7 separate regions of the Homo sapiens genome follow, and all the other regions are linked to region 5. The links are contacts of gene promoters, found by promoter capture Hi-C in blood cells and fetal thymus (Javierre and others, 2016). All regions are on one chromosome and are shown on one strand. Each heading gives the region's core, a stretch centred on a gene start or on the middle of the fragment in contact. The rest is flanking DNA. Distances are from core to core; before and after follow the strand shown.

Region 1 (3,633 bases), core at 981-3,480, 200 kb after region 5:
TACTATTCTTCCCAACCCAGAGAATACTGGGAAGAATTTTCCCTATGGTGCCAATTAGGCCACAGATCAATAGCTGCTATGAAAATATGTCCCCATTTCTAGTTAAAATAATTACTACCAATGTTTTCAATTTATAAGAACCCTGAAGTCTTTTTTTAAAAGTCATGATTAAATTTGCAAATAGATAAACACGTTAAGATAGAAATTGAAATCCATTTGGGACTTAAGAATATTTAATCTAAATCTTCAGCTTATATGTAATAGTCTGTTATGGGTTTTTTTCCCCTGAACTGTTTTTAAGACCCTTGCTTTGGGCTACAATGGTGGCTGTTGTTCTCAACTCATTGAAAAACAAGTTCTGATCTTTTCCTTTTAAAGTATTCTGTTTCCAAATGCTTGTCTTGTTTGAAAAAAAAGAAAAGAAAGAAAGAAACGAAAAAAAAAAGCCCATATCCTGGTGCCATGAATTGGAGGCTGCATTTTTCTCTAGTTAATGGCACACTATTTACTTTCTAGATGTGTAAATGAGTAATGAGTCCCTGGGGGGAAAGATAGTATTGAAGAGCAAATAAATTCCATGGATAAGATCCATAGAATTTTTAAAAATGATTATAAACCCATGCTTTCAGCTATTAATAGTAAAGGTTTTGTTGCAGAGTAAGAACACTGAATTGAATTACACAAGTGGGGAAAGAGCAATGCATTTCCATAGTTCACTTTGAATTACAGAGGTTCAATTTCTATGTTCCCTTGTTCTGGTTTCAAAAAAATAATGTTAAATATAAGGAGAATGATTCTTTGGAGAAGGCAAAGTTCTTTTCTATGAGATTTATAAAGCCTGGGTGTTGTTTTTTTCCCCCACTCTGGGCATTGCAAATTGCTTCTGTGATCCTAGTAAAATATCTCCAGAGACTTACTAGCAACAGGCATGGCTAATTAACACAGCCAGGGAATGTGGCGCCTTCCCTGGGTTTCTGAGCCTTTAATCCAGAGCAAGGCCCACTCTTCTTTTCGCGTCCCCAAGGCCATTAAGTACTTATCAGAGATCCAAGAACTTTAGATCTGGGCCAAGAGGCAAAGCCAAACAAGGAACATTGAATTGGACACTGTCCCTAAACCTTCAAAAATTAAAATGTGTATGACAACTCAGAAAACATGGTTTATGGAAAATTTTGAAAAAGGTAGACAAAGGAAGGCCTAAGGAAAATGAAGACAGATTTATAGCATGACTTAATAGGGGGTAGAGGGATGATAAAATGACCTATCCAGGTCCCATCTAACCTTATAGCTATGCAACAACTGGGGCAGAGCCATTATTTTTATTTATTTTTTGGCCTCACATAAATTTAACTTCATCATCCTAGACTCAGAGGCCTTGTTCCTACAAGAAATGCCATAACGAGTTAGTATATGTGAATCTTGGGTCATATCATGTTAACATTATATGTGACATACAATATTAAGCTGCAAATAGAAACTACAGAAGCACTATTCCTGCCTGAATATTTGTTGAAAATCAGAATACCATTATTCTAGTGAAACGTTAAAGAAATAATCTGTTGTGTCTTTATTGACAGAATAGAGAACAATTCCTTTGTTGGATTTTTGTAGGTAATGGGACAAGTTAAACACAAAGGCAGACATAATTTTGCAGTAATCCCCAAGGTGCAGTCACCAGTTCCATGCTTGCTCACCTCTGTCCTCTCCAACACAGAAGGCCAGCTTGTCAACTTTAAGAAGGCACAAAGCTGGGAAGAATAATAACTAAGCTTGATGACAAAATCAGGGTTTTGATGATAGGGTTTGTGTTGAAGGAGGTACTTACAAAACTGTATTTAACAAGCCTAAATGCAAAGACATTCAGAAAGCCATCTTCACAAGGACTGGTTGAAGTTGATCCACTTGGCATCACTGATGTGAAAAGGACCCATGGGCTTCTGCGTTTTGGTTGAGGACAAGCCCAATATGCATCAAAACATGATGAAGTTGAGTTAATATAAGGATAAAACTCTAGTGTAATGGCAAGACTCCCACTTACTTTGTATTCATTAAACCACATCTGGAATATGGCATTTTCCTTTTTGGGGCACCCAAAACTGAGGAATGAGCAAAAGAAAGTGACCAGAATATTCTACAGGGAATAGAAAGAAACAGAAATGAAAGGAATTTTTTTTTTTTTTTTTTTGGAAACGGAGTCTCACTCTTGTTGCCCAGGCCGGAGTGCAATGGCGCAATCTCGGCTCACTGCAACCCCCACCTCCCGGGTTCAAGCAATTCTCCTGCCTCAGCCTCCCGAGTAGCTGGGATTACAGGTGCCTGCCACCACACCCAGCTAATTTCTGTATTTTTAGTAGAGATGGGGTTTCACCATGTTGGCCAGTCTGGTCTCCAACTCCTGACCTCAGGTGATCAGCCAGCCTTGGCCTCCCAAAGTGCTGGGATTACAGGCTTGAGCCACCGCACCTGGCCAAGACAGAACTTTTGAGTTGACATGAGAATTGTCTTCAAATATTCCAAGGGGCATCAATGGCACAGATAATAGTAAGACCTACCTGGGAACAATGTGTGCTTTGTATTAATAGCTGAGTATTAACAGGAATGCAGCAGGTCGCTAAGACACATCCTTTGTATCTTCTTAAGTAGGGTCCTAGCATTATATGTAGCCTTGTCCACACAGAATCGTAAGCTTCTACCTCCATGAACTCCCCCCATCTGCTCTCACTGCGCTACTTTAAAGCCTTCAGAGGCTCTTCTCAAATGAAGCATTTTGACAATATACATCTCACATGAACAGTAATTTCTGGCACGAAAAGAATTTTTAGAAATTTTAAATAAAACATGTTTTTTGAAATTATTTGATTATGAAAAAACTAATTTAGTTTATAAGGAGAATATTTGGAAATCTTTGGAAAATCTACCTATAAACTGCTTGCAAATGTACTGGGATTTTGTTTTAAGGTCTATAATTAATTAAGTTGATAGAATGCTGCTGGTCGACATTAACCATTGATTAATTTTGTGTTTATGGGATTGTTATATATGTATGTGTATAATTGCTATATATATTATAATACAAATACATTAGGTCTTGTATTTTCATAATCCTTTTCAAAGCACATAGGTCCTAGTCACAGAGCTCACAATGACAAGTTGATAAAATGGCTCTGCTTATCTCAAGTTGATAAAAAGTCTGTTCCATGGTAAGCACTCAGTATTTGCCGAATCAGTTAAAATACTGACTCATCAAATAACAACCAGAAATTTCTAGTTCTTTTCCCTGCTCAAAGCTCGAAAGAGGGAATTAAAAGATGAGTGGGAATGGGAGGGGAGGGGCAGCAGCTGTCTTCGAATTTCTGTGGATCCTGTTTGCCAAGAAAAGATACATCCTAATTTGGTTTTTAATTGCAGGTGTGATTGTCCCCAGTGCTGCACCACAGACATTACCATGTTAATAGCAGGAAGTGTACTGGGATCAGAGAAGCAAGGTCCCATTTAGTGCAGGAGTTGAGTCACAGCTTTTCTAAAAAGAGGATTCTAAATATACTGAAAGGGGGGACTAGCTGCTGGATATTGGGAAGGGTGCCTTTTTGCAGGTCTTTTTGAAAAAAGGCAACAGATTAAGCAGTGGATCAA
Region 2 (3,513 bases), core at 127-2,626, 240 kb after region 5:
ATGGCTAGGGAAGCTTCACAATCATGACAGAGGATGAAGGAAGAGCAAAGGGACATTTTACAAGGCAGCAGAAATGACAGAGTTTGTGCAGGGGAGCTCCAATTTATAAAACCATGAGATCTCATGAGACTTATTCACTACCATGATAACAGTATGGGGGAAACTGCCCCCATGATTCAGTTATCTCCAGCTGGCCTGGCCCTTGACACACGGGTATTATTACAATTCAGAGTGAGATCTGGGTGGGGACATAACAAAACCATATCACATTGCAATCATGTTTCTCACTTGAGAAAACCTAGATGGTAGGGGCAGTGATCAAGATCAGAATATAGGAGGTTCAGAATATTACTTTTTAATTTATTGTGTTTAACATTCCCAAATGAAAATCAGGTAGAAGTCTCTGTTAGGCAGTTAGCAACAAGACCATGGAGCTTTGGAAATAGCAAATATAGATTTAAAGGTTGCCAGCATAAAGATAGTAGTTGAAATCAAAGAGAAACTTTAAAGTGAGAATATATAGAGCAGGATTTCTTAACCTTGGTGCTGTTGACACTTGGGGATGGATGATTCTTTGTGTGTGTGCAGGGAGGAGGGGGGTGCTGTCTTGTACATTCTAGGATGTTTAGCAGTACCATGGCCTCTACCCAACATAGGTGCCAACAGCACCTTTTAGTTGAGACAACCAAGAATGTCTCCAGATAGTCCCAAACTTCCCCTGGGGGGCAAAATCGTCTTTCCTTGAGAACCGCAGGTATAGAGTGAAAATGGTAGAGAGGGAAACTTGGGCAAATCACACACACACACTGAGCCTCAGTTTCTGAATCCATTAATTGCAAATAATTCTAGAAATAGCACAGATAATAAGCAGTGTGGGGAAGGACTCCTTATTCAACAAATGGTGCTGGGATAACTGGCTAGCCACATGCAGAATAATGAAACTGGACCCCTTCCTTATACCATATAAAAAAGTCAACTGAAGATGGATTAAAGACTTGAATGTAAAACCCAAAACTATAAAAACCCTAGAAGACAATCTAGGCAATACCATCTTGGACATGGGAACAGGCAAAGATTTCATGATGAAGATGCCAAAATCAATCACAACAAAAGCAAAAATTGACAAATGGCATCTAATTAACTTAAGAGCTTCTGCATAGCAAAATAAACTATCAACAGAGTAAACAGAAAACCTACAGAGCAGAGAAAATTTTTGCAAACTATGTATCAGACAAAGGTCTAATATCCAACATCTATAAGGAACTTAAACAAATTTGCAAGAGAAAAACAAACAAAAAAAACATTAAAAAGTGGGCAAAGGACATGAACAGACACTTTTCTAAAGAAGACGGGCTGGGTGCCGTGACTCACACCTGTAATCCCAGCAGTTTGGGAGGCTGAGGCAGGGAGATCACTTGAGGTCAGGAGTTCAAGACCAGCCTGGCCAACATGATGAAACCCCATCTTTACTAAAAATACAAAAATTATCCAGGTGTGATGGTACACGCCTGTAGTCTCGGCTCCCCAGGAGCCTGAGGCACAAAAATCCCTTGAACCCAGGAGGCAGAGGTTGCAGAGAGCCAAGATCCCACCACTGCACCCCAGTGTGGGTGACAGAATGAAACTCTGCCTCAAAAAAAAATAAATAAACATGAAAGTTAACAAAATAAAGACATACATGTGACCAAATATCATATTTAAAAAAAGCTCAATATCACTGATCATTAGAGAAATGCAAATCAAAACCACAATGAGATATCATCTCACACCAGTCAGAATGGCTATTAAAGAGTCAAAAAATGGCCGGGCACAGTGGCTCCCGCCTGTAATCCCAGCACTTTGGGAGGCCGAGCACCTCAGGCGGATCACCTGAGGTCAGGAGTTCAAGACCAGCCTGGCCAACATGGTGAAACCCCATCTCTACTAAAAATACAAAAAAAAAATAGCCAGGCATGGTGGTGGGCACCTGTAATCCCAGCTACTTGGTAGGCTGAGGCAGGAGAATTGCTTGAGCCCAGGAGGCAGAGGTTGCAGTGAGCCAAGACTGCGCCAATGCACTCCATCCTGAGAAACAAGAATAAAACTCTGTCTCAAAAATGAATAAGTAAATAAATAGTCCAAAAATAACAGATGCTGGCCAGGTTGTGGAGAAAAAAGAACCCAAAAGAACACTGTTGGGGGGAGTGTAAATTAGTTCAGTCATCGTGGAAAGCAATGTAGCAATTCCTCAAAGAGCTGAAAACAGAACTACCTTTCAACCCAGCAATCCCATTACTGGGTATATACCCAGAGGAATATAAGTCATTCAACCATAAAGACGCATGCACTTGTATGTTCATTGCAGCTCTATTCACAATAGTGAAGACATGGAATCAACCTAAATGCTCATCAATGACAGATTGGATTTAAAGACTGTGGTACATATACACCATGGAATATTATGCAATCATAAAAAAATGAGATAATGTCTTTTGTGGGAACCTGGATGGAGCTGGAAGCCATTATCCTTATCAACTAATGCAGGAACAGAAAACCAAATACCGCATGTTCTCACTTGTAAGTAGTTGCTGAATAATGAGAACTCATGGACACAAAGAAGGAAACAACAGACACTGGGACCTACTTGAGGGTGGAGGATGGGAGGAAGGAGAGGGGCAGAAAAAATAACTATTGGGTACTAGCCTTTGTAGCTGGGTGATAAAATAATCTGTACAACAAACCCCCATGACACAAGCTTATTTACATTACAAACCTTCACATGTACCATCAAACCTAAAATAAAAGTTAAATAGAAAATGTGATATATATACACAATGGAATACTGTTCAGCCACAAAAAAAATGTAATTCTGTCATTTGCAGCAACACAGAGGACATGATGTTAAATAAAATAAGAGAAGCACAGAATGATAAATACCACATGTTCTCATGCATGAGAGAGCTAAGAAAAAGTAGAGTACAATCGTGGGTATTAGAGGCGGGGAAGGGTGGCGGGGCAGGGAGGATGGGGAGATGCTGATTAACAATTACGGAATTACCGTTGGATAAGAGGAATGAGTTCAGGCGTTCTGCAGCATCACAGGGGGGATGTGGTTAACCAGAATTTATTGTACATTTTCAAAAAGCTAGAAGAGAGGATTTTTAATGTTCACAACACAAAGAAATGATCCAAGTTTGAGGTGATGGATGTGCTAATTCCCCTGAATTATTATACATGGTATACACATATGGAAATACTACTCTGCATCCCATAAATATGTACAATTATTACGTGTCAACTAAAAATTAAAGAAAAAAGTGGAAACAACTCAAATGTCTATCAACTGATGAAAGGATAGATAAAATGTGTTATATCCACACTATTATTGGGTAATATGATAAAGGACTGATGCATGCTACTATATGGATGAAATTTGAAAACATTATCCTAAGCAAAAGACAGACCCAAAAGACCACAGCTGTATGATTCCATCTATATAAAAAGTCCACAATAGGCAAATATATAGAAACAGAA
Region 3 (3,646 bases), core at 481-2,980, 220 kb after region 5:
AGACAGTGGGCGAGACAAACTCAATAGCAATGCATTGCTATCTTTATAGACCCAATTTCTAGTTATCTCTGAAACTATGGTATGTGGCTCTTTGAACGTTCTATTTTGTCTTATTTTGCTTTGGAAGTGCATTCTTTCAAGTCTAATTAGACTATTTGTGGCTTAAAGAAAAATACAAAGCTTTTCCCAGGACACTTTGGGCTTTCATGTTTACCATCAAATTAGCAAAAAACAAACACACACAATTCTAAGGCATTTATTTTGAAATTTAATTGTATACACACTTGCATATAATTTCAACTTCACAGTGAGTTGTCCCATAGGCATTTTCTGCAGAAAATTTTTGGAAAGACCAAAAGAATGTTTGTGCCTACTGGCTAGATCCAGTTCCCTCTGGGAGGACATTACAGACTCCAATTCACGTGAGATGCTAGGCAGGCTAGGACTGAGGATACCCAGGAATCCTCTCGCTGAATTTCCTGGTGTGGAGCTCATTTGACAAATGTGGTTTCCATTTATGAAACTGCTTAGCAACCATCCTGTATTTTAAATTCTGCTAATGTCAAAAATCACAAAACTGAGAAAGAGGAGGAAATTTGAGGCTTGCTTGATTGATGAAGAAACCAGGGCTCAAGTAATTGCATAACCAAAACCATCAACTGGGCTTAGAGCTAACACAACTTGTTCATGCAAACCAGCATCAACAAACCCCAGAGCCACACAATTTGCCACCCAGACTTCTGGTTAACGCCCAGCAAAGAGGCCTTGATTCCTGAAGGTTGCAGGCTGATAACTCCAATAAGACCAAGAAACCTTGTGAAAGTACCACTCACCAACTGATTGTACTGCTGGAGCTCCCAGAAACCACGTAGATGAGGAAATTCAACTGGCAAATAGCAAACTGCCTCAATGATATTTGAAAATTGATTTAATGTTATTATAATTCCCTGAATAACCAAAGATCGTCTGGTGAAGGGTAATCACTACAGAGGGAACATATGTTGTTTTAAAAATTATGTCACAAGCTGTAATTCTTTTAACTCTGTTTGTAAAATTAGGTTATATCCCTGATATTACATATTTTATTCTTCCTTTCTCCATGGGAACAAGATATCTTTAACTGTCCTTAGGACTGGAATGATTTTGGGGTAAACTAAATAGAAAGGTTAGAAGAAGAATAAGAAAGAGGAGGAGGAGAGAGGGGGAATGGGAGAGGAGGAAGAGGAGGGGGCAGGAGGAAGGAGAAGGAGAAAGAGGAAAGGGAAGCAGGAGGAAGAAGAGGAGGAGGAAGAGAAGGAGAAAAGAAAGAGAAAGAAAAGAATAACAGCAACAACAACACTCAAGAGAAGAGCACTAAAGGATGATAGAACCTCCCTGCAATACTAAAACACTGGCCTTAGGGTAAGTAGAATGATTTTTTTTTTTTTTTGATCCGTATTCTTCCATTTTTTCAGTCTTCACATCCTAATGCTGAGACATCAGATGGGTGAGGAATTCAACTGTGGGGTAGTTTCTATGAAATTAGGGTGATGTATTATTTGCCAGGGGTCTGTGAGAGAAGTAAATAGCAATCTAGATACTCCAATATTAATTAGAGGTGAAGATAATAGAGATGGATTTTGAATTTGATTTTTTGAGTCCTTTGGATAAAGATGCAAGAGAATCCCTCAGGCAATCGCTCCTTATGTTCCTCAAGGATTTTCTCACATGGATTCTAAATCAGGGTTTATCTTAGCAAGCAGTCTCTAAAATCTTGGATATTTAAAAAATGTTCTGTAAGATAATGTTTCCCATAAGTTTCCAGCAGATAAATAAAAGGAATGCTCCAGAAGACAGTTCAGGTAGTATGGAGCCAGTGAGATTTGGCTGTCCAGTCTTTTTTCTCACTTAGACTCATTTCGTGGTTTCAGACAAAATTCTTTCCTCTCTCCACTTAACTAAAGAATACTCATCACGTGTATACATATGTAACTAACCTGCACGTTGTGCACATGTACCCTAAAACTTAGAGTATAATAAAAGAAAAAAAAAGAATCCTATCTGAGGTTGCTTGATGCAAACCTTTTTCTTTATTTTCATTATTTTCTTAGTATCTTTTATTTTGTTTTTGATTTTTCTTTTTTGTTTATTTCATCTCTTAAAATTTTTATTAATCTTGAAATTTTTAGCATTTTAATAGCTGGGTTTTTTTTCTTTTGTGGTGGTTTTTTGTAGAAGCATCATGAGAAATGTCTAGACATTGAAAGCCTTATCCCTATCATAGCCTGGTTTTAATCTTATTAACTCCATGTTTTCCCAGTATGAATGCTCTGTTAAAACAGTATTTACAAGCAAGACAGGACAGTGGCCCACCCAGGAATGACACAAAGCCAGGGGAGCCTCCCCCACCTAGGGAAGCGGTGAGCAAATGTGCGACCCCGGAAAACCACGTTTCTCCTACAGATCTTCGCAACTCTTGGGTCAGGAGATCTCCTTGTGAACCCAACAGGGCCTTCAGTCTTGAGTCAGAGGGACAGAGCTAGGTGGAGTTTCGGCAGAGCTCAGGCTTGCGCGCAGACCCTGGAGCCTTAGATACTTCCGCTTTCCAGCAAAAGCAGCTGCAGCTCTGGCAAAGTGGGAGGTTAGACTCCCACACATATTTCTAGGAAAGAGCCTGAATCCCGGGAGCTGAGCAGCAACAGCCCGAAGATCCCACTTCCACAGCATCTCACAAGATAAGACCCACTGGCTTGGAATTCCAGCCAGCTACCAATAGCTGCATTGCAGCCCCATAAAAAGAAGCTCGGCAAGGGGGTGACATCTTTGCTGTTCGGATGCGTTAGTCATTCCAGCTTTCAGGCTTTGGAGAGTCTGAGCCAATCCAGGGTGGAAGGGATCCCCCAGCACAGCACAGCTGCTCTACCAAAACGTGGCCAGGCTGCTGATTTAAGTAGGTGCCCGATCCCATTCCTCCTCACTGGGTAGGACCTTCCAACTGGGACCTCCAGTTGCCCGGCTCAAGCTCTCCACGGACAGAGATCTAAATTCCCCCAACATGGTACGCCCAGAGAGAGCGGGGCGGGGCCGCGGGGGTGGGGGTGCTAGCTTTGCTGTTTGGGTGACTTAGCCATTCCAGCCTTTGGGTTTCATAGTGTCTGAGGCGACCAGAGCCTGAATTTTTTTTATCTTCTCTACTGATTTCCTATTTTAAATGTCATCTTCAATTTTATGATTTATTTTCTCCTGCTTATTTTGGATTAGTTTGCTCTGCTTTTTCTAGTTTCCTAAGGTGGAAGCTTAGATGATTGATTTTAGAACTTTCTTCTTTTCTAATATATGCATTCAAGGCTGTAAATTTCCTTCTAAGCGCTGCTTTTACTGCATCCTACAAATTTTGATAACTTGCATTTTTATTCTCATTTAGTTCAAAAATATTTTAAACTTTTTCTTGAGACTTCTTTGACCCAAGTGTTACTTAGAAGTGTGTTCTTCACATATTTTCAGATTTTCCAACTATCTTTCTGTTAGTGATATGTAGTTTTAATTCCACTGAGGTCTGAAAGCAACCGTTTTATGATTTGTATTATTTTAAGTTTCTTAAGGTTTGTTTCATGGCCCAGAATGTGGTCAATATTGGTGAGTTTTCCATGTGAGCTTCAGAAGAATG
Region 4 (3,856 bases), core at 249-2,748, 250 kb before region 5:
TAAAACGCAACCTCCTCCCTTACAATTTTGTAATGCATACAAAACTGTAGAAATGGTATTATTTGTTATTATATACCCTAACTCATTTAACACTCAAAAGCAACAATCAAAGGTGATTAAACAAATGTGAAAAATAAGCACTCATAACTTCTACAGTCAACTTATTCAACTACTAGATCAAAGATCTAGGTACGTTTTTATTTGTTTTTACAAAATGTAGGACCTTGAAACAACACTGGGCATAATTTCAAATAGTTTGATCACTATGCAATCATTTTCCCTGCTTTGTGTGTGTGTTTCTTTACAATGTTATATTACAATAATAGGTTAGATGTGTATCTCAGAAAACCAAAAGAGACTAGAAGTTTAAAGATCAATTTCTCAAGCAGAAATGCAGTTTACAAGACCTGCCTTTTTTTTTTTTTTTTTTTAATTAAGGCTTTCAGACCTAATCTAGCCATGACCAAAGGCCAAACTCCACAGCTTTGTACAACTGAAGCTCAGCAGACCTTTCTGGACTTTCTCCCACTGCTCCTGTTCTATAGCCAGTTGCTGTGTTCACCAAACTTGCCTGACCCTTCCTCCTCCTGTGCTTTCACTCACTCTCCTCCTATTTTAATACTCATCTCCAGCCTGCAGCACCCCAGGCAGTACACCTTCACATGAGGAAAATTTACCCATCTTTCTACGCTGAGTTAAAATTCTTCCTTTTATGAAACTTCCCTGAAGTCTACCAGCAAGACATTCCTTCTCTTTCCTAAGTCCCTATTGCTCTTCTGCCCATCCCACACATTTGGCACCTAGTCACAAGTTGCTTTGTGATATTTCATGTATTACTCTATTTATTATGTATAAGTCTAATTTTCCCATTTGGAGATATTTACCCTTTATGTTTCAAGAATGATTTGACACAACTTACTTAAAGTATAAAAACAAACAAAATCAGACCTCCCAAGTAAACAGTAAACTTCCTAAGGATAATACGAAATCCGTAAATCATAAAATGTAGGGTGGCATAATTAAGCTTAAGGACTATGTGTTATGCATCTTATTCCACACATCTCCTCCCTCTTCACTCATGTCTTATATACAGACAAGGTACTTTGGTACTTGCTAGAAAGTGAACAGTATAAAAACCAAAATTTTGTTTTAGAGAACTGGATATTCTTAGTTCATGTATAATAAAGAACAAATAGCTGGCTCATTTTTAAAAAGTTGTGATTTATGCCCTACGGTATTCTCAAAAGATTTAGGCTGTTTGAACACCTCCATCTAAAGGAGCTCAGAAAGCAGCACATTCAAACTTCAGATGGCTCTGCTTGTTCAAAAGTTCTTTATATTGATTGAGTAGTAATATGCCCTTTTAACTGCCAACATTCTACAAGATGTTTCAATAGCACTTTCTCTTCTCTAAGATAAATCCTTAATTTCTTCATATTCACCTTCTGGCACGAATAGCTAAAATGGTGAGGGGTTCCCACCATACCACCTCACGTGAGTAATAAATGGAAGAAATGTAGAAACTTAGCTGTAAAGACAAGGACTCACGGGCCCATAATAACTTACCAAGTGCTGGTATGGAAAGGAACAATTAGATTTATTCTGTATAATTCCATCGGTTAGAATGAGAACCAGTGGGTAAAATATTCCTGACAGACTGCAGCTCAGTGATGAGGATATCGAAAGCCACAGGGATTATTGAGTTATTTAAGTCAGACACGAGTCAGTACTACACATCTAAGAGAGCTTTCTGAGGCAGTGAAAATGTGCTAAAACTGCACTGCCTAAAAGGTAGCCATTGGCCACATGTGGTTACTGAGCATTTGAAATGTAGTTGGTGAGACTGAGGAACTAAATTTTTACTTTTATTTACATCTAATTAATTTAAATGTAAACTTAAATAGGCATATGGGATGAATGTAGGGCAGACAATCACTTGGCAGGGGTGTATTTAGACCCTTGTCAAAGCTTAGATGAATTTTAAGTTGCCATATCTGTTTTAAAAGAACAAAATAAAAACTTGCTGAGAGAGATTAGTGCTAGGATACTGTAATACTTCTTCCTTTGTAAGAATGAAGACACACATTTCATGATGGTATTCTTATAAGAATATATATTCTTATACCTATAGCAAAGGACAGAGTATCCCTGCTTTTTAAAATCTAGGACTCTAGATTTTCTTTCATCAAACCCCACACATTTTTAATTTATCTTAATCCCCATAGGTCTATTAAACATTTTTTCATGTCAAATGAGGATAACATGCTGACACTGTAACAAAGTTGGAGAAACGCACATCTTATGCATGCATGTGAAAACCCAATCATTACACTTATGAATTACTGCAATTAAATGTTTTCTTTCCTAGAAGATTTCTGAAATTAAGATCCTTGGATCCTGTCTTAGAGATAAAACATCTAAAATAAACTGGAAAAATTCTTTTTAAAATTTACAAGTACAGTATAAAACTCCAATGAAAGGATTTTAGATACTGACATGAGAGGGCAGTCTTGGTTTAAGCATTTACCCCTCCACCAAACACAACAGTTAAGTTCCCAGAATAGTTTAAGTTGTTTAATGAGCACAGTTTTAATTATGGTTTCTTCCAAATGACCACAATATCAAGTAAAGAAAACTACTACATTTAAAATGAAGAAGAAAAGCTTACAAGAGGATCTATTTATGCTTACTTTTCCATTTCCTCCTATGCTTTCTTCCTTATAACTGGTAACCCATAGCCACTTACCACAGGCCCTCGCCTATTTCTCCTTTCCAACCATTCGTGCTTCCAGGCTGGCATACAGGTTGCCTTCAGTTTCTCCCTGATCATTCGTTCCTCTGGACGATCATCCATCTTGTGCAACCCTTTGAGAGTTTCTTTATTCTCCATCTCACGACTAAAATGCAGGCAGAAACAAATAAAATGAGAAATGTATATATGAAAAATAATTTCCAAGAACAAACAGAATGGATGGTTCTATTTTATACTTCCAACGGACATGTAATAAAAAAGATAACTGCTAAAAACCCCAAATGACTTAAAGCTTGAAAAGATTCTGAATTATATACTACTGACATATATCATGCAGACCTATGTTCCACTGTAGTTAACAAAATGAATCCCAAGACATTAAGCACTATATTAACAAATATATTCACTAAGACTGCATTGTTTTTAATTCTACCACCCAAATAACAAATATTTAGAAGGGTGTATTACTACACTTTTATCCCAGGATTTCCAATAAATTAAGTCAATACAGATAGAATCTGGTGGATATGCTGATTTATCTGAAATAAGCTCAATAAATATTTAATAAGTGAAGTGAAACTTAACTACATCATCTATGACCCCAAAACAATTTTTCATAGCCTACATGATTAAATTTTTATTTTCATAGAACAGTGACTTCATAACAAAGCACTTGGGGTACTCTATAAAGAATAAAAATTATCCAGTACAAACATTTGATCTTTACTCCATAAAATGGTGTGGATTTACCAGAATAAAACAATCTCTAAACTAAGAACGTTTGAGAATTAACTCTACAAAGCCTAACAGGCAAAGCATCAAGCTCACGAAAATCACTAATTTTAAAATATACCCATATCCACATGAGCATACATGCATACACGATATGCATAGATTTGAAAACCTGATTTATAAGGATGCAGTTAAAGCAACTGCACCTTGGGATTAGTAACAACTTTAAAAATACTAAGCTAATTTCAGTAACTATTTTGAAAAGTCTTTAAAGCTAGAGAACAGTTTTTCTACACTGATAGGAAAAGGAAATACTCAAGGAAATACCAAAAACAAGAACCTCAAGTTTACTACAAAGACAAATTCAAACTC
Region 5 (3,878 bases), core at 225-2,724:
TGCTGAAGTCATTCACTTTCTTCACCTGGATTTGGAAAACTGCTGATGTCTCGTTTAGCTTCATTCCTAAGTTGTCTTTCAAAAGCAGGGACATGCAAAGTGGCTGCCTGTGGCAGAGGCAGCAGGAGAGGGGCACACTTGTTGAGTCTGAGAACTTCACAAAGACTGTTAATTAATTGCTCATTTCGACAAATGAGAACAGATTTCAAATGCATAGTTGAACGTGGAGCAGGAAGAACATCTTGCTCTTGTGACTTGGTTTTAAACGTTGCATCTAGAAGATGGGGTGATACTGAAAGATGTCACTTATTTCCTTTTGTGAATTGAGATAAAATGGTTCTAATTCTTTCACTGCTTTCTGGCTTTAGGGCCCTGCGAAAGAATGTTTATTCTTTTGCTCTTGGTGGGAATTGGATGTCTGTCGATTTAGCATATGTTTAAAATATTTTAGCTTTGGAAAACTGCCCTGATAGCCTTCTCCCTCTAGTCAAAATTAATCTCATCTTCCCGCAGCTCTCACAGCCAGTGATTCATGGCTCTAATACAGCCCTTCTCATATTCTTCTTTATTCTATAAAGACTTACTTTTCTATAAAGACTTTTATTTCTGTTTGTCTCTTACATCAAATTGAAAGTTCTGTGTGGAGAAGAACTCTGTCTTACACATCTTTGTGATTACCTGAGTCTAGTCTGGTACATTATATTTGGCAGCATTCAGTACGTATTACATTGAATCTGGAAGATCACACAGAGAGGGGGATTCTGAGGGGTGGCAACAACCACTTTTGTAGCAGACGCTGTTGGTGTCCAACCCATGTCCCCTTGGCCACCCCAGAGTTTGGCTGTAGTCACATGCTGTGTAGACAGACAACCTCCTGCTTCTCTCTGCCTGAGGGCATTCTTCAGCCATAGAAATGAGCTTGGAAGCGGCTGGGTATGGTGGCTCACACCTGTAATCCCAGCACTTTGGGAGGCCGAGGCAGGCGGATCACAAGGTCAGGAGTTCAAGACCAGCCTGGCCAATATAGTGAAACCCCATCTCTACTAAAAACACAACAAATTAGCTGGGTGTGGTGGCGGGCACCTGTTATCCCAGCTACTCAGGAGGCTGAGGCAGAAGAATCACTTGAACCCAGGAGGCAGAGGTTGCAGTGAGCCGAGATCGCACCATTGCACTCCAACGTGGGCAACAGTGCAAGACTCCATCTCAAAAAAAAAAAAAGACAAAAGGAAAAAAGAAAAAAGAAATGAGCTTGGAAGCACACAGGTTAGTCTGCAAGTGCCAGGGAATTATTGCCCAAGGAATGACCCTTGGCCAAAGAGGGAAAGTCCTGGCTGGATAAATAATCCAAAGTCCTTGCCCTCATTCCAAGGAATGTTCTGCAGTCTCCTAAGGGTTTCCTGCTAGAGGAAGCCCTGATTGCCCAAAGCTTCTTAACACATTCTTTATTAGCTTTCCTCTCTTCCCTGTTTCATATTCCCTGTGCTCCCCTGGGATCAACAGCCAAATGAACAACTTCACCTGAGCCCTTACCTCCAAGGAAGTGCCACAGGGGAACCCAAAGGCCCTTAATCATTAAAAAAAACTTTAGAGATGCTGGCTGAGCCATCAGTGAGAACATGGATGCATACACAGAACCTACATCTTGTCATCTCTGCTCTTCGAGGAATGGAGCTGGAGAGGCAGAGAAGCAATGAAGCCGAATTCTGTGAGTGGGACTTCTGCGCAGCGGGGGAGGGAATTTCTACTTCTGGCCAGGAAATAGAGCTGGTGCCTTGTAGAAAGGCTCGAGGTAATGCAGTCAAAGGGCAAGCTTAGAGCAGTATGTGAAGGAATCCACCAAGGATTAGAACCAGCCAAGGGTCAGACAAACCAAATGAGACCAGAAGAGGAAAGTGGTGTCTTGGCAGAAAGGGCTTCCAGACCCATAGTCACAGGAATCTTCAGGAGAGGGGTGAAGAAGAAGGCATGGATCGCCAGGCCCAGGAGAGTCTAAAGCTGGTTTGGTGGGGAAGAATTTGGCCACATCTGTGCAGGATCCTAGAGAGTGGGGCAGAGGAGCTGGGCATCTGCTGTCAATGAGGCCAATTAAGAACAGTCTCAGGCTTGGGTCTCAAGCCTCAGGGATCTAGAACTTATCTGGTTTTAGCTGCTCTATATTCATTTCTTAGGAAGAGAGAGAGAGAGAGTATGTGTGTGTGTGTCTGTGTCTGTGTATATGTGTGAAATTTCTCTCAACTGAAACACAGGGCAGAACACTAGATGAAACTAGTGCTGTACTTTTCTGCTTATCTGTCGACACAGTCTTAGTGCGCAAAGTCTTGGTCTTAGTGGCTGGGTGTGGCAGTTTCCCAGAGGTGGGGGGCAGTAATAAAGAGAGAGAAAGGGAGACCTGATAGAAGATGGAGACCAGATAGAAGGCATCTGCTACGTGCATAGGTGCCCCTTTCTGAACAAGCTGTTTTTTGGTTACGAGATCCATTCCTGAAATCGATTTTAAGATATTCTGTGTTGGGTGATGTCACAGAAGCACTACTGGTGCACGGATTTGAAAAATAGTGGCTCATCCCGCCTCAGGGTTTGACAGCTTGGTAACTTGCAGTGAGGTTTCTTTTAACAATGAAACCAAGTCCTTTGAAAGACAAAAAAAGAACAAAACATCCACTAATTTTTGCGTGCAGGAGTAAGACAACAGTATTGGGAGATCTCAGCTATAAATGTGCCAGCTCTGGGAACTTTGGTTAAGTCATTTCACCATTCGCCTGTTTCCTCACCTATAACCAAGGAGGCAGCCAAGCCATCCCTAGTATTTCCTGGAATTCTGAGATCCTAAGTCAGATTGTTGAGTCTGGAGAGGCTGGATTCAGTGATTGACTAGGAGGGGCCTGTTTGTGTGGCTGTGTTCTATATGGCAAAACTTTGGTTCAGCACTTTGGCCAAGTCGGCCTCCACAGAAATGAGGATGTAAGAGCCTTTCCAAAAATCATATTAATTGAAACTATGTGGAGTCTGACTTAACTTCCATCTATATGCCTCCTTTCCCTTCTTCTAAGTTGTTTTTTCCCTAGTATTCCCTCAAACAACCACCTTTGTTCAAGTCTAAATGAATGTCTTTGGTTTCAAGATAATTCTCCCTTTTCAAGCAATTTCTGAACACCCTGTCCTGCAGAGAGTGGCCCGGGGCGGGGGGAAGAGTGGAAGCTTGGCTTGAGGAAGGAGACTGAGGGGCCTGTGTAGGCGACATGTTTGACTTGATCTGCCCCAGCCCCCAGCTTTCTGCACTTTGGGAGTTTTGCTTAGTGCTGTCATAAATTTTAGTACTAAAATGGCCAGCAGAGACCAAGTAGTTCATGGCAGATCGTCTCACACATATAATTGGTCTTCTCTGTTGGCACAGCAGAGTGTGCAGACTTATTATAAGGAATGTTTGGTTATCCTGAACTCAGTCCCTGAAGGACAGGTGTATGTTTTACAGCTGCACGCAGGGAATTTTATTCATGGGCCAGCTTCCAACTGCCCTTAGCTTGGCTCTTGTACCATTTCTCCAGCTCAGCTCCCCACCCTTCCCCCCGCTAATTTTGGTATTGGCCTAAATGAACAAATAAGATCTTAAAAAAAAAACAAACCCTCATGGCTTCTAGAGATGTTTATTTTTGTTGTTGCTGTTGTTGTTGTGTGTAAGTGTGTGCGAGAAAGGTGGCACATATGTTTTATAGATTTGGAAAATGTAGATGAATGAATTTAAACTATTTGCCTAAAGGTCAAAAATTGGGAGCATGTTAACTAGAACTACACTCATCATTGCCTCCTTCAAAAAACAATGCTCCACAGTTGATGTGCGTCTGGAGCCTTTGTGCTGGGCCCTGCATGGTCTAGAA
Region 6 (3,614 bases), core at 1,089-3,588, 190 kb after region 5:
CCACTGGGGAGCTCTGGGAGCCAGTGTAGAGCATTGCTGGTCTTTCCACCTGAGGAGCCAGGGAGCTGGAGGGAGCTGGAGCAGTCATTGCTGCAAGGTGCTGGCATGGGCAGGCAGGCATCAGTTCTTCAACACTTCCAGCTTGCCCTGGGGCAGACAGGTTCCAGCAACCAGAGGAAGCCTCCCAGACAAAGAGGTTCAAATGCTGGTAGTTCTGGGTGGGCAGCCAGTATTACAATAGTAAGGCCCTAGAAGACTTGAGCGCAGCTCCAACCATGAATGCTGCAGGATAATTGATGGTTTTGCTGAGACCTGGCAAGTCACAGGCACTCAATAAATATTTTTTGAATAAATGAATAACCTGAAAATTCTCTGATAAAAAAAAGTTGCATTCAACTTTCACTGTCATTAAAAAAAAAAAAAAAAAAAAAAACAACCTTGTGTCCTTATTCGTACCCCTCACAGGCCCATGTGAAAATTTTCCAAGGATATACACATAGGAGCAGAATGTGTCCAGCTGTCTAACTTTTGTAAGTCTGAGGACGTATATAGATCCTGGCACAGAGTAGTTCCTTAACGTTAATCAAAAGTGAACCTTTGTCAACATCATAAATAGCACAAATACACTTGACAAGATCAGAAAATACCATAAATATGGTTATATCCAGTTAGCAGAAATCAAAACCAAAGCTCACAGACGGACAAAAACGATTCCTTGGAGTGGGTTAACTCTGCAGAGACAGAGCAGGAGGAGAAAGAACCACAATAGCCCTGTCCTTAACAGCCAGTTCCTGGGACTTGGTCCAAAGGTACCAAAGTGGTAATTCCAGTTTGGGCACTAATTCCCACTGGACCTTAAGCAGGTCAGTTCATTCCAGTCAGCAAAATAGAGAGACTAATAAGGGCCTCTCCTCAAGGGCAATAAGGAATAAAGTTTGGAAAGCACTTTAAAATGAAAGCTCCTGTTACAGTTTGCAGAGAGGGAGGCATTCAGAAATACAGCCTATAGGCTTAGCATGGACAAAAAAGGTCAGCATATCCCAGTCTGCGTGCTGATCTAATTAAACCCTGGGCAGCCCTCGCCACTGGCCAAATTCAGATTTCTGTCTCTCCATATAATGTCTAGAAACTACAGATGGATATGAAAGAATCTAAGTTTCCTTCTGCTGAGAAATTAAAATGCAACTCTTTTGAGTCTCTCTCTGTGTACGTCCATATGTATGTGCACGTAGGAGTTGTACTGTATCACCATCCCTCACTTTATAAAAATCTTTGGATTTTTCCTATACTTCAAACACACTCAGGGAAGCAGATAGCATTGTGTTCACCATGGTAATAATAAGCACTAATAAAACATAAAGGTGATTGCAACTCTAGTATAATCCCCTCGCCAGAGGCATCAGTCTCTTTAAACTTATGTGAGAGGCCAGTGCTTTCTGGAAAATATGCATTTATGTTTTTCTTGTTATGCAACTCCACAGCCTTGCCTTGTTATTTTGTTTTGTCTGCTCCAGAAACATTTAATGGATTACTTGAGACTTCTCCTTTTCACTTTTACTTTTCTTTTGAATTTTACTTGTTAAATTCTGGGATTCCTAGCACTCTAGTGATTGCTCTGCAGGACAGACTTCCGGGACTTTCTACTCCAGGTGAAAACTGTATCTTTCACATTTGCACATAGAGAAGCTTGCCAAAACTATCCTCTAGAGAGAAGAAATTTAAGTCATATGTCATTTATTCCAAGGAACATATTCTATATGTTGCCAGTGGAATGATTTGTCTTTTTCCAGGGATAAAAACTAACCCAAAGGCATTCTGGCTTTATTTAAATCATTCACAAAAGGAGACATTTATTATGGTTGCTATAGTTCTGCACTATTGAGCAAAGTGCCTTGATGTTTATATGCCTGTGGGTCTAGTCCTACTATGAGCTTCCAGAAGGAACTGACCAAGTATAAGAATACTAGTAATATGAGAGTGCCTTATTACATTAGCTGTCTCCAAAATAAGGTTAAATTTGCAAAACATTCAAATGAAATGGCTATCACCTGGTTGTACCATGAGTTATTGAGTCTTAGTGGAAGATCACTAATTTATGACACTAAATTTTTCAGTACAGATGTGAACATTTTTCTGTATTTTAAAAAATCCTTTTTCCTGACAGAGCAGCAAAACCAATTTATTCATTCAACAAAAATATTTTAGGAAATTAGTTTGTGCCAGACAGGGAACTTTAGCATAAAAATGGAAGCTCTCTAAAAGGATTGAGGGGAAATTATAGAGCTGAAAACTACAATATTAGAAATGGAAAATTCATTCAATGTGTTTAACTACAATACTGAACACAACCTTTACTGATCCTGAAGAAAAGATCAGTAAATTTGAAGGCAGTTCAATAGAAATTATTTAAACTAAACCATAAAGAGAAAATGAATGAAGAAAAACAATAGAATGTTTTAGATGTGAGACACTGTTAGATGGTCTGATATACAGGAAACTGGTGTTAAAGAACAGGAAGGAATAAGGCAGAAGAAACATTTATAGAGATAATGGCTAAGATTTAATCCAAGGTTAATGAAAGACATTAATCCACAAATCAAAGATCAGACTCTCCTAAGAGTTTCCTATGCTACTTAGAATAAATTCCAAGATCATAGACTAAAAGTTGCTTTTGATTTGGCTGTGGTTTACCTCTGCAACCTCATTTTCCTGCATACTTTCCTCAGTGAATTCATTCCAACTCATCTTTCAGCTCTTCTTTTAGATATTTCCCTGGCTGGTGCCTCTGGATACTCAGATTTCAGTTCAAATGTCACCTTCTCTTGTCTGACTCTTACCTCTCTACTTGTCAACTCCAGCCCCATTCTCACCTCCCTTTTACTCTCTATTTAATTATTTTGGATTTTTTTCATAGCACATATAATTATTTGAATTTAATTTATGTTATGAATTCACTATTTTATTCTTCACTCATTAGAATGCAAGCTTCTTGAAAGCAGGGAATATGTATTTTTCATCATTGTGTAACATCAATTCTTAGAAAAGTGTCTGGCACATAGGTAGAAGGTCATCGTAGGGGTGTGTGTGTGTGTGCATGTGCGTGCACAGTTTCAGAAATTATTGGGGCCTGTCAAAATTCTGAATAGCTCAGCTCATATTTACTGATGCAGCTCACTCTTCCAGCTCATCTGCACTTCCTCCTTCTGATTCTCATGTTGGCAGGACAAGAGAACACAGAACATGATATTATCACAACATTTTTACCACAGCACACACTTAAGGTTAACCCATCCACAAAGATGCTTATGAAAATCAAACAGAAAAGAGAATAGGAAGCAGGGGGTGAGTGGTTTATTTCTTTTAGACCTGCTGCTTGAACTTACTTAGACTCCTCTTAGATCTGGAGCTGAATTTTTTGACATTCCTGGTCACTTTTTCTACTCAGAGCTGAGTTGGGGTCAAGAAAGGAAAAATAAACTAGTACTTAAATAAAATAGCATACATTTGAATAAGTCTCTTAATTTTTCTAGGTATTTTATCCTGCTAATTCTATTCCTACAGCATCTGTATAAAGAGATAAGCGGGCCAATCTAAAAGGATTTCTAATGAAGTTA
Region 7 (3,435 bases), core at 740-3,239, 160 kb before region 5:
CTCAACTGTGAGACCATTTTCCTCACACAGGGCAAGTCCTTTTGATAAGGGATACATTTCATTGTTAAGTTGCATCTTTAAAAATGAAAATTTGAACATATCAAATTAGCCAGTTGAATTCTTTGAGCTTATCAAGCATTTTTTGTCTTATAGAAACTCTTAATATAACAAAATGTGACAAATATATTTAAGTTTCTTTTCTACATGGGGGTATTATATGGATAAGTCCATCTCTGACTTTATTGGTTCTAGGTTTCATATTTGGTCATCCCCATAAAAAGATCATACACACTCTGCCTCTTGTAGTTCTTGTGTTCATGGTCTTATTTATACATTAATACTTCTGGGTAGGGAGAGCTGGAGGCGCCCAGGCCACTTGTGTCTAGGCCTGGCAGTGCCAATCTCTGGCCAGTCAAATGTAAGTGGGAGTCTGCAGGGTTTCCAAGAAGGCTTCTACTTTGGAGTTGAGGGCCTAGTTTACAGTAATAATGTACTACATTACTGGGGGCAATGTAACAAAGATGGCAAAGCTGGAAAGAGTACGGGTTCCTTAGGGCAGGGATTGGCAAGCTTTTTCTGTAAAGGGACAGATAGTAAATATCTTGGGCTTTGTAGGCCATACAACCTCTGTCTACTCAACTCTGGTGTTGAAGCATAGAAATGGCCATTGAGGAAATGTAAATGAGCATCTTTGTATTCCAGTAAAACTTTATTCACGGGCCCTAATATTTAAACTTAATGTAACTTGTCACAAAATATTCTTTTTTCCAACCATTTAAAATAGGTAAAGACCATTCTTCATTTTTGAGTTGTACAAAAGTGTAATGATTGGCCTGTGGGCTGTAGACTGTCAACTCACCTTAGAATATCATTGAGCAGGTGGGCCAATACTAGCAGAGACTTCTAATTTATGAGAAATTGTATCTCTAATTAGGCCACTGTTCGTTTGGTTTTTTGGTTACTTGCAGTCAAATACATTCTTATCTGATACAGGTCTTTTTTTTTTTTTAATAGCCCGCTGTTCTAACCTTTTATTGACTATTTGAACTTTCATCCACCTTCATTTGGGCACTATTTTTTAAATCACATGTTAAATTTCCTTAAGCCTAATAAGTTTTTTCTAACATTCTATTCTAATCCACTAATCTTTGTTCATTTTCATGTCCATATTAACTTAATTCCTATAGTTTTAATGTATACTTAGGATTCTGAAAGAATGTGTACCATACACTAAGTTGTTTTTCTCATGGAAGATGTCTGAATGTCTATATCTTCCCACCCATGAACATGATATAACTTTACATTTAATGGAGAAAAAGATCTGAATGAGTTACCTCACTTTTATTTCATTTAAGCCATGGCAATTTCTACTTGGATTATTTCTTGGTGATCTAGTTTACTGTTTTTAGTGTAAATGGAACTGTTAACTGGAATTACTTTTATGGCATCAGTCCACGTTACTCTTCCAATTCTGTAATGAAACCATGTAGATTCAGAGCATTGTTTTTTGTCCAACATGGAAGACCAACTCAGAGTTCAGTGCTTTCTGTCATTCTACTTAGTCTTTGGAAGGTGCTACTGGGCAGTTTTTTGTTCTGTTTGAATTAGGTGTTATTAAATGCTAGTGAGTCCTTAGACTTGACATCATCTAGAGCAGTAAAATGGTGTTATGTACAACTATTGGAAAGTGGATTGAACCTGGTTGCTGATACCGATCTAAGTGGTTTGGATTTGTGTATATTCTAAGCATCATGTTTTATGTCAATGGGAACCCAGAATGGAGGCTCAAAATAAGTTTAATCTGCATGTGCAGACAACTCCTAAAAGATAAAGAAACAGAGGTAGTAAGTGGCAAGACCTGGGCAAGAGGAGAATGCCAGAGCCTCATCTTCAGACTTACATTCCAACAGGAATGGACTCGTGATGACATGCATTTTGAGGAAGCATACTTTGTGCTTTGGTACTAGTTCTCAAAGGGGCTGAGGTCTGAGAGACAAACAGCCATCAAACCAGGTACAAAGAGGGTGCAGGCTGAGTGAAGCAGCACCCACAATGGCCTAGGGAGGAAAGAGTAGGAGACGGCTGTTCAGCTAAGCAGAGAAAGCTCAATAGAGCTGGCATGTGGGGTTTGCGGTGGGAGGAGTTGAGTGGGTGGGCAGTTTTACTCTTCTGGGCAGAGTCCACAGCATCATGTGAATTCAAATATGTAAATTGCTTTCCTTCATGTAAGATGAAAGATCACTTCTCTTTGGTGACTTGAATGTATTAATAAAAAGCAACAGGAATATCTACTAAAGCTGAATACATGCATACCCTATGTTCTATCAATTTCATTTCTAGCCACATATTTTACCAAAAGATATAGCAGCACTACATGTAAAAACCCCAAATTGAAAACTACCCAAATGCCCATCACCAGTAGAATACATTGTGGCATACTCACATAGGAGAGTACTATTTAACGAGGAGAAACAAAGTAGAACTCTAAATGAACTGATAAATCCCACAGACATGTTGAGGGAAAGAAGCTAGATACAGGGTAAAACATAGCTGTATGATTCTACTTAGGTAGAGAACAAAAATTGGCAAAAGTAGGACGAACACTTCAATTCCATTTATATTAAAGAATCCAGAGTGGTAAGATTCATAAAGACAAAGTAAAATGGTGGTTGCCAGGAGCTAGAGGGAGAGAGGAATAGGGAGATATTGCTGAGTGGGTATTGAGTCTCAGTTATGTGAGATGAAAAGAGTTTTGGAGACGGATGCTGGTGGTGGTTGTACAACAATGGGATTGCACTTAGTACGCTACTGAACTGTACACTTAAAAATGGTTAAGATGGGCTGGGCGTGGTGGCTCCTGCCTGTAATCCCAGCACTCAGAGAGGCCAAGGCGGGTGGATCACTAGGTTGAGATGGAGACCATCCTGGCCAACATGGTGAAACCCCGTCTCTACTAAAAATACAAAAATTAGCTGGGCGTGGTGGTGCACGCCTGTAGTCCCAGCTACTTGGGAGACTGAGGCAGGAGAATCACTTGAACCCAGGAGGCGGAGGTCGCAGTGAGCCAAGATCATGCCATGGTACTCCAGCCTGGCAAGAGAGCAACTCCGCCTAAAAAAAAAAAAAGATTCTAAGTTTTAGATATATTTTACCACAATAAATGTTTTACAAATGGCAAAGCAAATGTTGTTAGATTAACATTACTGTTAGCTGACGGTAGGGTGTGGGGTGCAAGTATAAAAGGAGCTCTTAAGTGTGGGGGATGTTCTGACCCTTAATCTGGGCAGAGGCCTCAAGGGTGTGTTCAGTTTGTGAAAATTCATCAAACCGTATACTTACGTGCATGTCTGCATGTATTTATATTTCAATAAAAGTTATCCTGGAAGGAAAAAGCAATGGGAAGCTTTAAAGTGAATTAATTTGTAATAGGTTACA

Evidence for each region. The method cuts DNA at HindIII sites, captures the fragments that hold promoters and counts their contacts. A CHiCAGO score of 5 or more calls a contact.
Region 1: a fragment that was not itself captured here is called in contact with the fragment with the promoter of C5orf67 in region 5 in 3 of 17 cell types (total B cells, naive B cells and neutrophils); the score reaches 9.9 in total B cells.
Region 2: a contact is called between a fragment that was not itself captured here and the fragment with the promoter of C5orf67 in region 5, in 2 of 17 cell types (naive B cells and total B cells). The highest score is 6.6, in naive B cells.
Region 3: a fragment that was not itself captured here is called in contact with the fragment with the promoter of C5orf67 in region 5 in 1 of 17 cell types (naive B cells); the score reaches 7.3 in naive B cells.
Region 4: a fragment that was not itself captured here is called in contact with the fragment with the promoter of C5orf67 in region 5 in 4 of 17 cell types (total B cells, non-activated CD4 T cells, neutrophils and 1 more); the score reaches 6.2 in total B cells.
Region 6: a contact is called between a fragment that was not itself captured here and the fragment with the promoter of C5orf67 in region 5, in 2 of 17 cell types (naive B cells and total B cells). The highest score is 7.0, in naive B cells.
Region 7: a contact is called between a fragment that was not itself captured here and the fragment with the promoter of C5orf67 in region 5, in 3 of 17 cell types (naive B cells, neutrophils and total B cells). The highest score is 10.0, in naive B cells.

The regions. Positions count from the first base shown.
Region 1 is chr5:56,402,624-56,406,256 of GRCh38, reverse strand. No RefSeq gene overlaps it. Among named protein-coding and RNA genes, the nearest start is that of LINC01948, 77 kb to the left of the region's middle. The HindIII fragment of the contact is 917 bases long and covers 1,772-2,688 here.
Region 2 is chr5:56,360,571-56,364,083 of GRCh38, reverse strand. No RefSeq gene overlaps it. Among named protein-coding and RNA genes, the nearest start is that of LINC01948, 120 kb to the left of the region's middle. The HindIII fragment of the contact is 2,721 bases long and covers 16-2,736 here.
Region 3 is chr5:56,383,335-56,386,980 of GRCh38, reverse strand. No RefSeq gene overlaps it. Among named protein-coding and RNA genes, the nearest start is that of LINC01948, 97 kb to the left of the region's middle. The HindIII fragment of the contact is 3,095 bases long and covers 183-3,277 here.
Region 4 is chr5:56,855,641-56,859,496 of GRCh38, reverse strand. MAP3K1 (mitogen-activated protein kinase kinase kinase 1) reads right to left here. Exons shown (of 20, transcript NM_005921.2): 2 at 2,747-2,897. It also overlaps the pseudogene LOC124901214. Among named protein-coding and RNA genes, the nearest start is that of MAP3K1, 42 kb to the right of the region's middle. The HindIII fragment of the contact is 944 bases long and covers 1,027-1,970 here.
Region 5 is chr5:56,603,852-56,607,729 of GRCh38, reverse strand. C5orf67 (chromosome 5 putative open reading frame 67) reads left to right here and starts at 1,474. Exons shown (of 6, transcript NR_161255.1): 1 at 1,474-1,708. The HindIII fragment of the contact is 384 bases long and covers 1,432-1,815 here.
Region 6 is chr5:56,419,469-56,423,082 of GRCh38, reverse strand. No RefSeq gene overlaps it. Among named protein-coding and RNA genes, the nearest start is that of LINC01948, 60 kb to the left of the region's middle. The HindIII fragment of the contact is 1,299 bases long and covers 1,689-2,987 here.
Region 7 is chr5:56,765,800-56,769,234 of GRCh38, reverse strand. LOC105378979 (growth/differentiation factor 3) reads left to right here. Exons shown (of 3, transcript NR_172721.1): 3 at 1-2,840. Among named protein-coding and RNA genes, the nearest start is that of MAP3K1, 48 kb to the left of the region's middle. The HindIII fragment of the contact is 2,833 bases long and covers 573-3,405 here.